Linked DNA regions of Homo sapiens: region 2 is linked to region 1. The links are contacts of gene promoters, found by promoter capture Hi-C in blood cells and fetal thymus (Javierre and others, 2016). All regions are on one chromosome and are shown on one strand. The core of a region is centred on a gene start or on the middle of the fragment in contact, and the rest is flanking DNA. Distances in the headings are between cores, read along the strand shown.

Region 1 (5,863 bases), core at 434-2,933:
GCCCTTGCCTGGGTCTCAACGCACACCGCTGAGGGCGGGGACCCACTGCCCCAGCCGTCAGGGACCCCAACGCCATCCCAGCCCAGCGCAGCCATGGCAGCTACCGACAGCATGAGAGGGGAGGCCCCAGGGGCAGAGACCCCCAGCCTGAGACACAGAGGTCAAGCTGCACAGCCAGAGCCCAGCACGGGGTTCACAGCAACACCGCCAGCCCCGGACTCCCCGCAGGAGCCCCTCGTGCTACGGCTGAAATTCCTCAATGATTCAGAGCAGGTGGCCAGGGCCTGGCCCCACGACACCATTGGCTCCTTGAAAAGGTAAGTAGGTCAAGAGGCAGGAGCAATGCTAAAGACAGGGGTTGGGAGAGTGGTCGCAGAAGGCCCCCAGAGACACCTAAGACCCAGCCCTCCTTTATACTGGAGGCGCTGAGCGCCCCAGATCACAACTGTACTTGTTCCCCTGGCAGACGGCCCCTCCCAGGCCAGGGCCGGTGTGTTGTGGAGGGCAGGGGGAGGGTGGGAGTGCTGTTCCGGGGCCAGGGACTAGGATTGCCTGAGGCCTGCTCTCTTACCCAGGTCCCTCTCTCCTCAGGACCCAGTTTCCCGGCCGGGAACAGCAGGTGCGACTCATCTACCAAGGGCAGCTGCTAGGCGACGACACCCAGACCCTGGGCAGCCTTCACCTCCCTCCCAACTGCGTTCTCCACTGCCACGTGTCCACGAGAGTCGGTCCCCCAAATCCCCCCTGCCCGCCGGGGTCCGAGCCCGGCCCCTCCGGGCTGGAAATCGGCAGCCTGCTGCTGCCCCTGCTGCTCCTGCTGTTGCTGCTGCTCTGGTACTGCCAGATCCAGTACCGGCCCTTCTTTCCCCTGACCGCCACTCTGGGCCTGGCCGGCTTCACCCTGCTCCTCAGTCTCCTGGCCTTTGCCATGTACCGCCCGTAGTGCCTCCGCGGGCGCTTGGCAGCGTCGCCGGCCCCTCCGGACCTTGCTCCCCGCGCCGCGGCGGGAGCTGCTGCCTGCCCAGGCCCGCCTCTCCGGCCTGCCTCTTCCCGCCGCCCTGGAGCCCAGCCCTGCGCCGCAGAGGACTCCCGGGACTGGCGGAGGCCCCGCCCTGCGACCGCCGGGGCTCGGGGCCACCTCCCGGGGCTGCTGACCCTCAGCCCGCACTGGGAGTGGGCTCCTCGGGGTCGGGCATCTGCTGTCGCTGCCTCGGCCCCGGGCAGAGCCGGGCCGCCCCGGGGGCCCGTCTTAGTGTTCTGCCGGAGGACCCAGCCGCCTCCAATCCCTGACAGCTCCTTGGGCTGAGTTGGGGACGCCAGGTCGGTGGGAGGCTGGTGAAGGGGAGCGGGGAGGGGCAGAGGAGTTCCCCGGAACCCGTGCAGATTAAAGTAACTGTGAAGTTTTCACTCTTGCAGTGTGTCTGAGTGTGTGCGGGCTGGCGGGCGGGGAGTCCTCGCCCCTTGGGAGAGAAGGGCACGGACTGCGCCTGGGGTCTGGCCCTCCGCCTTCCCTTCTCCCCAGCGTTCTGCTCTGGCTTTGGCGCCGGCCTCCGTGGCCCCGCCCTCGGCGCCGGGCGCGCACTTCCCGCGGGCGGGGCTCGCGGCTCCCTGGCTCGCAGTGCCTGCCGGGAGCCACGTCTCCGAAGACCGATAGCTGCTTCGGGATTGGCGTCCGGGCGGCTATCTAGGGGCTGCTGGGAAGATGGCGGACTCGGTGGCTAGCCGATGAGGAGGCCGCGGGGGGAACCCGGCCCCCGGGCCCCGAGACCGACTGAGGGAGCGACCTGCGCAGGGCCCGGGGAGTCATGTAGGGGTGGCGCCTGCGGGGAGGGCTGCGGGAGGGCAGCGGGAGCTGGTGTTAGCGGCAGCGGCCACGGTCTCCTGGCGTCCCTGGGCCGGGGTGGGTGTTGGGGCCCCCGACTTCGCCGACTCCGCGCCATCGCAAAGCGGTGCACTCGGGCTCCACGCGCGCCCTGCGAGGTGGGCGCTGCGTTTTCATTTCACGGGTGAGGAGACTTAGAGAGACGAAGCCACTTGTCCAAGGTCACGCCGCTGGTGAGTGGGAGCGCCCAGCATGGAACCCAGCACCGTCCAGCCGCGGAGCCCGCGTTCCACCCTCTGTGCCGCCGCCGCCTCCTGTGGGAGAGGGAGGTGGTCGGGAGAGTGCACGCCGGTGCCGCCTGGGCTCCAGACTGGGCGCGACCACTAACCCGGTTAATGACCTCGGGCTTAACTTAACCCCTTCGCTGCTCTGGGCCTGCGTTTCTCCACCGGTGAAATGAGGTAATGCCAGCCCTGCCTACTCTTCATGGGCGTGTAAGGAGCATCAGAGATGGTGCATGTGGAATTGCTTTGCAAGTAGTGCTGCGCTGAGCGCACTGAGGATTATGATTGCTGTTTCAAAGGCGTGGAAGGAGGCAGAGGGGCGGGGTGGGGAAGAGGCCCAGAGCAGTCACAAAGGCTTGCTCTGACCACAGGCCCCCTAAATGAGGAGTGAGGTAAGCAGTAGGTAGCAGGTCTTTCTCCCCTTTGGAGAAAACCTCACCCCCTTTTTTGGGCTGCCCCTCAGGGTCTCCATCACCCAACTCCATGCTTCGAGTCCTGCTCTCTGCTCAGACCTCCCCTGCTCGGCTGTCTGGCCTGCTGCTGATCCCTCCAGTACAGCCCTGCTGTTTGGGGCCCAGCAAATGGGGGGACCGGCCTGTTGGAGGAGGCCCCAGTGCAGGTCCTGTGCAAGGACTGCAGCGGCTTCTGGAACAGGCGAAGAGCCCTGGGGAGCTGCTGCGCTGGCTGGGCCAGAACCCCAGCAAGGTGCGCGCCCACCACTACTCGGTGGCGCTTCGTCGTCTGGGCCAGCTCTTGGGGTCTCGGCCACGGCCCCCTCCTGTGGAGCAGGTCACACTGCAGGACTTGAGTCAGCTCATCATCCGAAACTGCCCCTCCTTTGACATTCACACCATCCACGTGTGTCTGCACCTTGCAGTCTTACTTGGTGAGGAGGGGCTTGAGGTGGGCGCCTGGGGGGCTAGGTGTTAATGAAGAATAGGGAGAACAGTAGAGGACCACGGACAGAGACCCAGCCTCTCAGGCGTTTGCCCAGGAACGCTTGCTCCTGCTCCCGTCCTATGTCTGCGGCAGACATCATGAGTCGAACGCACTCCTTCCGGCCTCGCTAGGGTGCCACCCCAGATTCCTGCTAATAGAGTGCCCTAGGAAGCCACCATAATTTGTCACAATTGGTATGAGATGAAAGCCTATTTGCCATCTTTGTATGTACTCCCTACAAACCGTTTCGATACCTCATAGCCACATGATACTTTACATGTCTCTAGTGTTTGCACTTAAACTCTAGCACACCTTCCCGCTCAGGAAACGGGAGAGGAGAAAGGTGGAGAATTCACCAAGTAACCCCATGATAAGAACAGCAGCACAGCTCTGTTACCAGGCTGCCTTTTACCTCTCCCCCTCAGGCTTTCCATCTGATGGTCCCCTGGTGTGTGCCCTGGAACAGGAGCGAAGGCTCCGCCTCCCTCCGAAGCCACCTCCCCCTTTGCAGCCCCTTCTCCGAGGTGGGCAAGGGTTGGAAGCTGCTCTAAGCTGCCCCCGTTTTCTGCGGTATCCACGGCAGCATCTGATCAGCAGCCTGGCAGGTGCTGGAGGGGGTTAAAATCAGATGGGGGTGGGGAGGGCTGACAGGAGGAGGAAGGTGGGCTCAGTTGGCTGGGCTGAGGTGGAATTGAGCCAGCCGGAGGTCCGGCTGAGGCCCAGCGTGACAGGCTGCTCTTCACAGAGGCAAGGCCAGAGGAACTGACTCCCCACGTGATGGTGCTCCTGGCCCAGCACCTGGCCCGGCACCGGTTGCGGGAGCCCCAGCTTCTGGAAGCCATTGCCCACTTCCTGGTGGTTCAGGAAACGCAACTCAGCAGCAAGGTGGGCTTGCCACCCACCCTCCAGTGCATCTCTGTCATTCTCAGGGACCTTGTCAGGCCCAGCGCCTCGTGCAGCTCGGCTATCCTTTTCCTGAAGCAGACACACCCTCTCTGTCCCCTGGGACCTGCATCTTTTCTACACCCTTTCTGTGGCTTGCCCACCTCCTGTCAGCAGCATGCATTCCTGGAAATCTGCAGTTTCCCAAAGCACTCTTAGCAGCATCCTAGCTCCACCCATCCCTCTCGAAGTCTTCAGGGCCAGACCCCACAGCGATGTCCCCTCTGCCTGTCTGGTGATTAGTCACGTGCAGCTCGTGACTGCTTTGCTGTTGAACTGTGAGGCCGGAGGGACTGTCCTGTCTTTACAGCAGTGTTGTAAACCTGAGGGCTAAGCCTCTCTAAGGCTTAGCTTGTAAAAGATGACTGCAGAAATACTTGACACTGGGTAATGAACTGCTCTTCCTCCACAGGTGGTACAGAAGTTGGTCCTGCCCTTTGGGCGACTGAACTACCTGCCCCTGGAACAGCAGTTTATGCCCTGCCTTGAGAGGATCCTGGCTCGGGAAGCAGGGGTGGCACCCCTGGCTACAGTCAACATCTTGATGTCACTGTGCCAACTGCGGTGCCTGCCCTTCAGAGCCCTGCACTTTGTTTTTTCCCCTGGCTTCATCAACTACATCAGTGGTACGCAGCCAGGATGGCTGGCTGGGCCCCTGAGGGCTGGAGAGGCAGGGGAGCAGGGTGGCCTGCAGCCCAGAGCCCCAGTCCCCGCCTCCCCACAGGCACCCCTCATGCTCTGATTGTGCGTCGCTACCTCTCCCTGCTGGACACGGCCGTGGAGCTGGAGCTCCCAGGATACCGGGGTCCCCGCCTTCCCCGAAGGCAGCAAGTGCCCATCTTTCCCCAGCCTCTCATCACCGACCGTGCCCGCTGCAAGTACAGGTGGATGGGGCAGCCTGGGGCAAGGGGAGGGGCCAGCCTGGGACCAGCAGAGTGGAAAAGCCAGAGGGACCATGAAGCGCCAAAGCTAAGGAGCTCTCGGCCACCATAAAACTGGGCCCTGAAGCAGCAGAGGGCTTTGCCCAGGGTGGTGGCACTAGACTGGGACAGATTAGGATGAGGTGCCGGGCCCTTCCTGCTACTGGTGTCCTTTCTCCTCAGTCACAAGGACATAGTAGCTGAGGGGTTGCGCCAGCTGCTGGGGGAGGAGAAATACCGCCAGGACCTGACTGTGCCTCCAGGCTACTGCACAGGTGAGCAAGGGGCAGGCGGCAGGCCCGGGGAGACGGAGCCCTGGCTAAGGCCGCCGGCCCTGCTCCCCTCCAGACTTCCTGCTGTGCGCCAGCAGCTCTGGTGCTGTGCTTCCCGTGAGGACCCAGGACCCCTTCCTGCCATACCCACCAAGGTCCTGCCCACAGGGCCAGGCTGCCTCTAGCGCCACTACTCGAGACCCTGCCCAGAGGTAAAGGAGGCAGGGTGGGGGAGCCCTGGCCACCTTGCCCGCCATGCCCTGAGCCACGTCCCTCCCCCTGCAGGGTGGTGCTGGTGTTGCGGGAACGCTGGCATTTCTGCCGGGACGGCCGGGTGCTGCTGGGCTCGAGGGCCCTGAGGGAGCGGCACCTAGGCCTGATGGGCTACCAGCTCCTGCCGGTGAGTGGCCCTGGCCTGGCCCGTGGCGCATCCTCACTCCCAGCCTGCGGGTAACCTGCCGCCCTCTCCTCTCCCCACAGCTACCCTTCGAGGAACTGGAGTCCCAGAGAGGCCTGCCCCAGCTCAAGAGCTACCTGAGGCAGAAGCTCCAGGCCCTGGGCCTGCGCTGGGGGCCTGAAGGGGGCTGAGGGGTTGATGTGGGGTTCAGGATGGCCCCCCCATGGGGGGTGGATGATTTGCACTTTGGTTCCCTGTGTTTTGATTTCTCATTAAAGTTCCTTTCC
Region 2 (6,343 bases), core at 3,844-6,343, 120 kb after region 1:
TGGGGTAGAGTGGCTCGGCTCCCTGGGGCTCCTCCACCTGTCTGGCTTGTTCCCTCTCCTTCCCTCTTGCCCATGCATCAAACTGGGGTCCTGTTGGATGGGTGGTTCACTGGGGGCAGGTGCCAGGCGTGTCTTGTTGGTCACGGTGGCTCAACACTTCGCAGGCACGGATGTGCTTAGTGATTTGCAGAGGACTGGGAGGAGCTGCCTGGGAAGAAGCTGTGATAGCACCTCATTTACGGAGGAGCGCACGGAGACTCTGACCCCAGAAGGTGCCTAAGGTCACTCAGGGCCATCTGCAGCCTCTTCCTCCCCACCTGGTGCTGACATGGGAGATAAGGCCTGCCCCTGCCACAGCCAAATGTGGCTCCTGCCTGGGGCCTGGCCTAGGCTAGCGGTGCCCAGAGGTGGGGAATTGGGTGGAGCCCCTGACCTCGGATGGGTTGGGATGCTGGGCAGGAACAGTGCCCCCCACCCCAGGTAGACTGCTGGGTGTGGATTGGCACCAAATGAAAGCAAGCCGGCGTTGTGTTCTGAGAAGTGATGGACACCTTCTGTGGTAGCAGGATGGCGCTGTACCTGCCACTCTGGGAATGTGTCCAGGCCTGGCTCTCCCGCTCTGCTCTGAGCTGCATGGCCTCTGGAGGCCTGCTAGGTGGCCAGCCTGCCTGCCTCACCCAGGCCATTGGGCCCAAAGGCACGGGGGTTCTAAGGAGCCATGGAGCCTGTGCAGGGATGGTTGCGTCCATGGGTGCCTCCCCTTTCAGAGGGCCCAGGAAGCAGAACTGGGCCAGGCAGGGAGAACCTTCTCACCCAAAGTAAGGTGTCTTCAGCCAGCGCTGGGGCTGAGGCTGGGGTGGGAGTGGGGTCGGGGCTGGGGCTGGGGTGGGAATGGGGCCAGGGCAGAGTGTTCTGGCATTAGCCACATGAGCCAGGCTGGCCCTGGGGCCTCTCATTGCTAAGCTCCCTCCACCCTTGTCTGCCTCTCTTCTGTCTCAAGCTTATGGTGACCTCAAGCCAGGCTCTGAGCTTCACATATCTTAGGCCATTTCACCCCTACGGCCCTAGGGGGTGGGCAGGATCACCCTGTGTTGCAGATGAGCGCCCCGGGGCTCTGGGCCGGTAAGTGACCGGCCCAAAGTCATTCTAATGCAATGTGCAGAGGCCACCTGACTCCACAGCCCATGCCCCCTCCCTTTGAGACTGGGAACCCTCTCCCCTGTTGCACCCCCTCCGCCCTCCTTGTCTGTCCTGGCTGCCCCCTGAGTGCGCCCAGTGCTGGCTGCCTCGGGAGTGTGGGCTGTGCCTGCCACGGAGTGGCTCTCAGCGGAACTGCAGCCTGCAGCAGCTGGGTCCTTCGTCTCTGCCCTGGGGAGCTGGGGCCACTGGCAGGAGCCAGGGCGAGTCGGTGGGAGAAGGGAGCAGAGCGAGGGCCTGGGGGTCTGGAGTAGGTGGCACTGGGGCAAGTGAAGGGACTCCCATCCCCCCATAACCCAGCCAGTGGTGGGATGGAGTCTGGCTGGGAGGCCTGGCTGAAGAGCTGGGAGCAGGTGATGTGGCAGTTCACCGAAGCCCCAGCCGACGCGGCAGGGTGGTTGCAGGCAGTGCCTCTGAGAGCCCAGGCCTATCTGGGGCCCCTACTTTCCTTCCTTCCACATCCCCTTGATGATCGCTAGATCTCCCCCGCCCCAGCCCCTGCCATCAGGCAGGGCTCCAGTTCACATTTTTTGAATAACCAGGCCTTTGACAGGGTTATTTTGAAAGGAAAAATTTCTTGAATCTCGACAAAGGAAGAGGGCCAGCAGTCACTCCTCTCTCTCTCTCTCTCTCTCTCTCTGTCTCTCGTGTGTGTGTGTAAGTGTGAGTTACAGGCTTGTGCTGTGAGGTGGCGTATACCTAGAGTTTCTGCGACCCTGGCAGGGGATTTTGAGATGTGGGGTCCTGGACTGGGTGGGCTTCAGAATGCCATTCTGGGCTGTCTTGCTGAGCAGCTTGAGCTGAAGAGGGGACGGGCTGCTGAGGTCTCAAGGTTGGAATTTCTGGGGCCCTGTGTTGGGGACAGTCTCCAGCCCATTCTGAAGTTTGAGTCCATCTTGGCTCCAGACTCTAGACTTCTCTGAGGCAAGCTCCCTGGTGGAGGACTTAGGTTCGAGGGCCTGGCTGGCTGTGGTCCCTGGGGTGGGTGCTGGGGTCTCTTGGGCTAAGGCTTCCTGGTCTCCAGCCTCTCCTCAGTCCTGGTGAGGCGCATCCCTGTTCAGGCCGCTGCCGGCCATCACCATATTAGGGCATAAACTCCAGGCAGGCTGTCTGGGTGCCAAATGGTCTCCAGCTGGGCCCAGCCCCCTGCAGCTTCCAACACCACTGCTGTGTGTCAGAGGCCAGAGGTCAGGGGACAAGAGTGGCTGCTGCAGGGAGACCCAGACAGAGCCCCAGAGCTCAGGGCCCTCGGGCGGGGCTGTGAGGGTCTGGGATGTGGTGAGTGGAAGAGCTGTGGGGTGGGGCGGAGAGTTCCTGGCCAGCCCCTTCACCTAGTGCCATCCTGTTTAAGCTGGTTTCAGAAGACCTCGTTCCCCTAGATGAATCCCCAGCGGGTTAGAATCCCCGAGCCTGGCCAGCATCTGCCATGCATCAGGCCCTTCCCACCTGGCCTGCTCCCTGCCTCCCCAGCACGCAGCCCCTTGACCTCACTGTCAGGCTTCAAGCACCAGCTCCAAGTCCCAGGGGTGGCGTCGCCTCCAGGTTGCCGGTGTCTGTTGCCGGCTTCTACCTTGACTCACAGCACCACCACTGTCGCCCCTGCTGTGGGTTTGAGATCAGGAGTAGGGGTGAGCCAGGGAGGCTCTAGGAGGTAGAAAGGTGAGGAGAGGCTGGGTGCGGTGGCTCACACCTGTAATCCTTGCACTTTGGGAGGCCGAGGCAGGCAGATCACTTGAGGCCAGGAGTTTGAGACCAGCCTGGCCAACACAGTGAAAACCCTGTCTCTATCAAAATATACAAAAGTTAGCTGGGTGTGGTAGCATGCAGCTGTAGTCCCAGCTACTTGGGAGGCTGAGGCAGGAGAATCACTTGGACCTGGGAGGCAGAGGTTGCAGTGAGCCAAGATCATGCCGCTGCACTCCACCCTGGGTGACAGAGTGAAACCCTGTCTCAGAAAAAAAAAAAAAAAAAAAGTGAGGCTGGGTTGCTAAGATGGAGTGGGACTGCATGGTTTGTCACCCTTGCCTCTCCCCCATGCCTGCAGCCTCCCTGTCAGCATGGCCTGTCACTGACACCACCAGCCAGTGCTGGCCCCAGGGCGTATGACTCTAGGTGCTAGGCACTAACGTGGGGACGGGAGACACTGGGAGGCAGAGAAGACAGCTGAGCAGAGGGGGAGCTGAGAGGAAGGAAGAGGCTCCCTAGGGAGAGTGGGAGATGAGGAGCCTGCCTGGTGGGTCCCTGGGGGGCCATAGAGGAGCTGGAGCGGGCTGTTAACTGCCTTCTGGTTTCATTAAGGACTTCCTGTGGGCAGGAGGTTCTGAGCTGGGCCTTAGGTGGAACTGAGTGCTTGGCCTAAAAGGGGCTCCTTCAGAAATCAGCACGGGTTGGGGGGCGGGGGGCGGTGGGGCAGCAGGGGGCCCATGTGCTCAACAGGGAGCTGAGGGAGACCAGGGGTGCTTGGCTTAGGGGACTGACCTCATCTGGTACAGGGCCTTTGGTGGACAGAGAGAGACTGGAAAAGAAAAAGTCAAGGATCGAGGGGAACGCGAGGCGAGGTGAAGATGAAAGATCTAGAAGCAGTGCTTCTTAGACTCTTTGGTGAAGGATCAGTGTTTTTTAATGCTAATATGTTATAGGCTGGTACATCTGTGAAATACAAGAGCACATGCGTGGATTTTGTGGTGATGCCAAATTGCTGTAAAGTTTTTGAAATTCTTGCTCTCAACGTCTGTCCTTATCTTGTGTGCTGACACAACGGCTGGTGCTAATCTAGAGAGAACAGAGAGACAGATAGTAACAGCTAACCGTCTGTAGTGTGCGGCATACGCCAGGCATTGCCTAAGCGCTCAGCATGTGCTGACTTGGTTAATCTTTATAACTCATGAGAAAAGAATTATATACATTATGTGTATCACAACATCACTGTGTACCCCATAAATATGTACAATTATTGTGTCAATTAAAAAGTTAAAAAATTTTAAAAAGAAAAAATTATTATTCTTCCCATTTTATAGATGGAAAAAATGAGGCACAAGGATGTTAAATAATTTAGGAAAAAAGCATAAGTGATTAAGCAGCAGATCCGGGCTATGAACCCAGAGATCGTAGGCCTAAAGTCTGTGGGCTTAAGCACTGTGCTACAGCGCCTCGCTTGAGGGAAAGGCAGAGGTGCTGGGAGGATATGAGGAAATGAGATAGGGAGGAAATGAGATCAAAGATGGCAGAAGAAAGGATCATAGCCAGCGTGAGAAAAAGTGCAGCCGGGAAAGAGCTAGATAAATCATATAGGCAGAGAGAGGGGTAGGGGAGCCTGGCAGCAACAAGCTGGGGTAGACAGATTGAGGGGAGCCATAAGGGCGGCAGGCACATGGCCGGGTGGGGGATCAGGACGGGAGATCCCGGAGAGGAAGGGCCATACGGGGAGGCAGAAGTGGACGGGCCCACTTGGGTTCCAGGGTCCATCCTGCGTGGCTTTCTGCTCTGCCCACTGAGTGGGTGCCAAGGGGGCTATGTCCTCCCACTCTGCAGGGAGCTGCTTCCTATGTCTGGTGGATGTGGTGCCCGTGAAGAACGAGGATGGGGCTGTCATCATGTTCATCCTCAATTTCGAGGTGGTGATGGAGAAGGACATGGTGGGGTCCCCGGCTCATGACACCAACCACCGGGGCCCCCCCACCAGCTGGCTGGCCCCAGGTAAGTGTACTTGCTTTAGGGCAGGCTCAGGGGTTCGTGGTCTCATTTCTTTGGGGCTGTGAGCTGTCCAAGGTCAACGCTCTGCAGGAAGGGAGGATGTAATGGTTGGGTGGGGGGTCCCCCCTTTGGAGGTGGGAAGTGAACCCTGTACCCTGAGGATGTGGCTTGGTTCCCCTGGCCCAGGATGGACACATAGGGGTGGAATGACAGGGCCCAGAATCACAGGTCCTTGGCGTGGGCTAGCACCGTTTCCCTAGCTTCATCTGTTGGGCTTCCCATCCCAGCATCCCCTGGGAGCGGTCCTCTCTCCAGCCTGGCTTGAGCAGCCCAGGGTGGGGAACATGACCACCTGGGAGCAGCTCCTCCCCTCAGTAGGAAGCTGTGTCCTATGGACTCAGCTGTGTGTAGTTTCTTTCATCTGCTCCTTGTTCATGGACTGGCCAAGTTTCCTGGGGGTCTGGGCTAGCTGAGGAGAGGCTTTGAGGGAATGCCCACCTGGGCTGGACCATCCCCTTGACAACAAAGGCTCGGAGCCCCTTCCTCTGTCAGGATGCCCTCTTTGGCTTAATTTTAATCTTTCCCTCAGCATCATGACAAAAGTGCTCACCTCTTGGTTTCTTACACTCTAAAATGACAGTGTCAGTAAAACTGGCCCTACCTGCTCATCGGATGCCACCCCTGACGGCAGGGCCCCTGGCATTGTGTCGCCCACTTAGGCGCAGGCCCCACGCACTGGCTGTGTGACCTCCAGAGAGTGACATGACGCCTTTGTGTCCACACTTCCTCATGTCTAAAATGGGGACGCTGGCACCCAGCGGCCGGTGTGAGAGACAGGGATGATTTATGGAATCCGCCCTGAAGTGTCACTTCAGATATGGCGGTTTATGATGACTGGATTCTAGAATGATTTTTGAGACTCGAGGTCAAAATATTGTGAATGGAAGTGGGGATGGGGGGTTGCCCGTTCCCCTCCTTCCCTTACCCAGCGGCTGGGGGTCCATTTCCCAGGCCTTGCCCGCTCCGGGGCTGCTCGCGATCCCCACGACCACGTGCCTCTCCTCTCCCGCAGGCCGCGCCAAGACCTTCCGCCTGAAGCTGCCCGCGCTGCTGGCGCTGACGGCCCGGGAGTCGTCGGTGCGGTCGGGCGGCGCGGGCGGCGCGGGCGCCCCGGGGGCCGTGGTGGTGGACGTGGACCTGACGCCCGCGGCACCCAGCAGCGAGTCGCTGGCCCTGGACGAAGTGACAGCCATGGACAACCACGTGGCAGGGCTCGGGCCCGCGGAGGAGCGGCGTGCGCTGGTGGGTCCCGGCTCTCCGCCCCGCAGCGCGCCCGGCCAGCTCCCATCGCCCCGGGCGCACAGCCTCAACCCCGACGCCTCGGGCTCCAGCTGCAGCCTGGCCCGGACGCGCTCCCGAGAAAGCTGCGCCAGCGTGCGCCGCGCCTCGTCGG

The links. The method cuts DNA at HindIII sites, captures the fragments that hold promoters and counts their contacts. A CHiCAGO score of 5 or more calls a contact.
Region 2: a fragment that was not itself captured here is called in contact with the fragment with the promoter of FASTK in region 1 in 1 of 17 cell types (erythroblasts); the score reaches 7.9 in erythroblasts.

Annotation. Positions count from the first base shown.
Region 1 is chr7:151,076,629-151,082,491 of GRCh38, reverse strand. It overlaps FASTK (Fas activated serine/threonine kinase), which reads left to right and starts at 1,683. Exons shown (of 10, transcript NM_006712.5): 1 at 1,683-1,807; 2 at 2,570-2,992; 3 at 3,471-3,650; 4 at 3,791-3,930; 5 at 4,400-4,613; 6 at 4,712-4,871; 7 at 5,091-5,182; 8 at 5,256-5,391; 9 at 5,465-5,579; 10 at 5,660-5,863. The coding sequence starts at 1,726. The coding sequence ends at 5,767. TMUB1 (transmembrane and ubiquitin like domain containing 1) reads left to right here. Exons shown (of 3, transcript NM_001136044.2): 2 at 1-317; 3 at 592-1,407. The coding sequence ends at 943. RefSeq lists enhancers at 376-670, 1,388-2,363, 2,364-3,340, 4,317-5,292, 5,293-5,863 and silencers at 1,269-1,948, 5,411-5,490. The HindIII fragment of the contact is 10,653 bases long and covers 1-5,863 here.
Region 2 is chr7:150,958,122-150,964,464 of GRCh38, reverse strand. KCNH2 (potassium voltage-gated channel subfamily H member 2) reads left to right here. Exons shown (of 15, transcript NM_000238.4): 3 at 4,729-4,893; 4 at 5,963-6,343. Among named protein-coding and RNA genes, the nearest start is that of KCNH2, 17 kb to the left of the region's middle. RefSeq lists enhancers at 1-120, 733-1,342, 1-1,567, 1,343-1,952, 6,221-6,343 and 1 more and a silencer at 177-348. The HindIII fragment of the contact is 8,181 bases long and covers 1,003-6,343 here.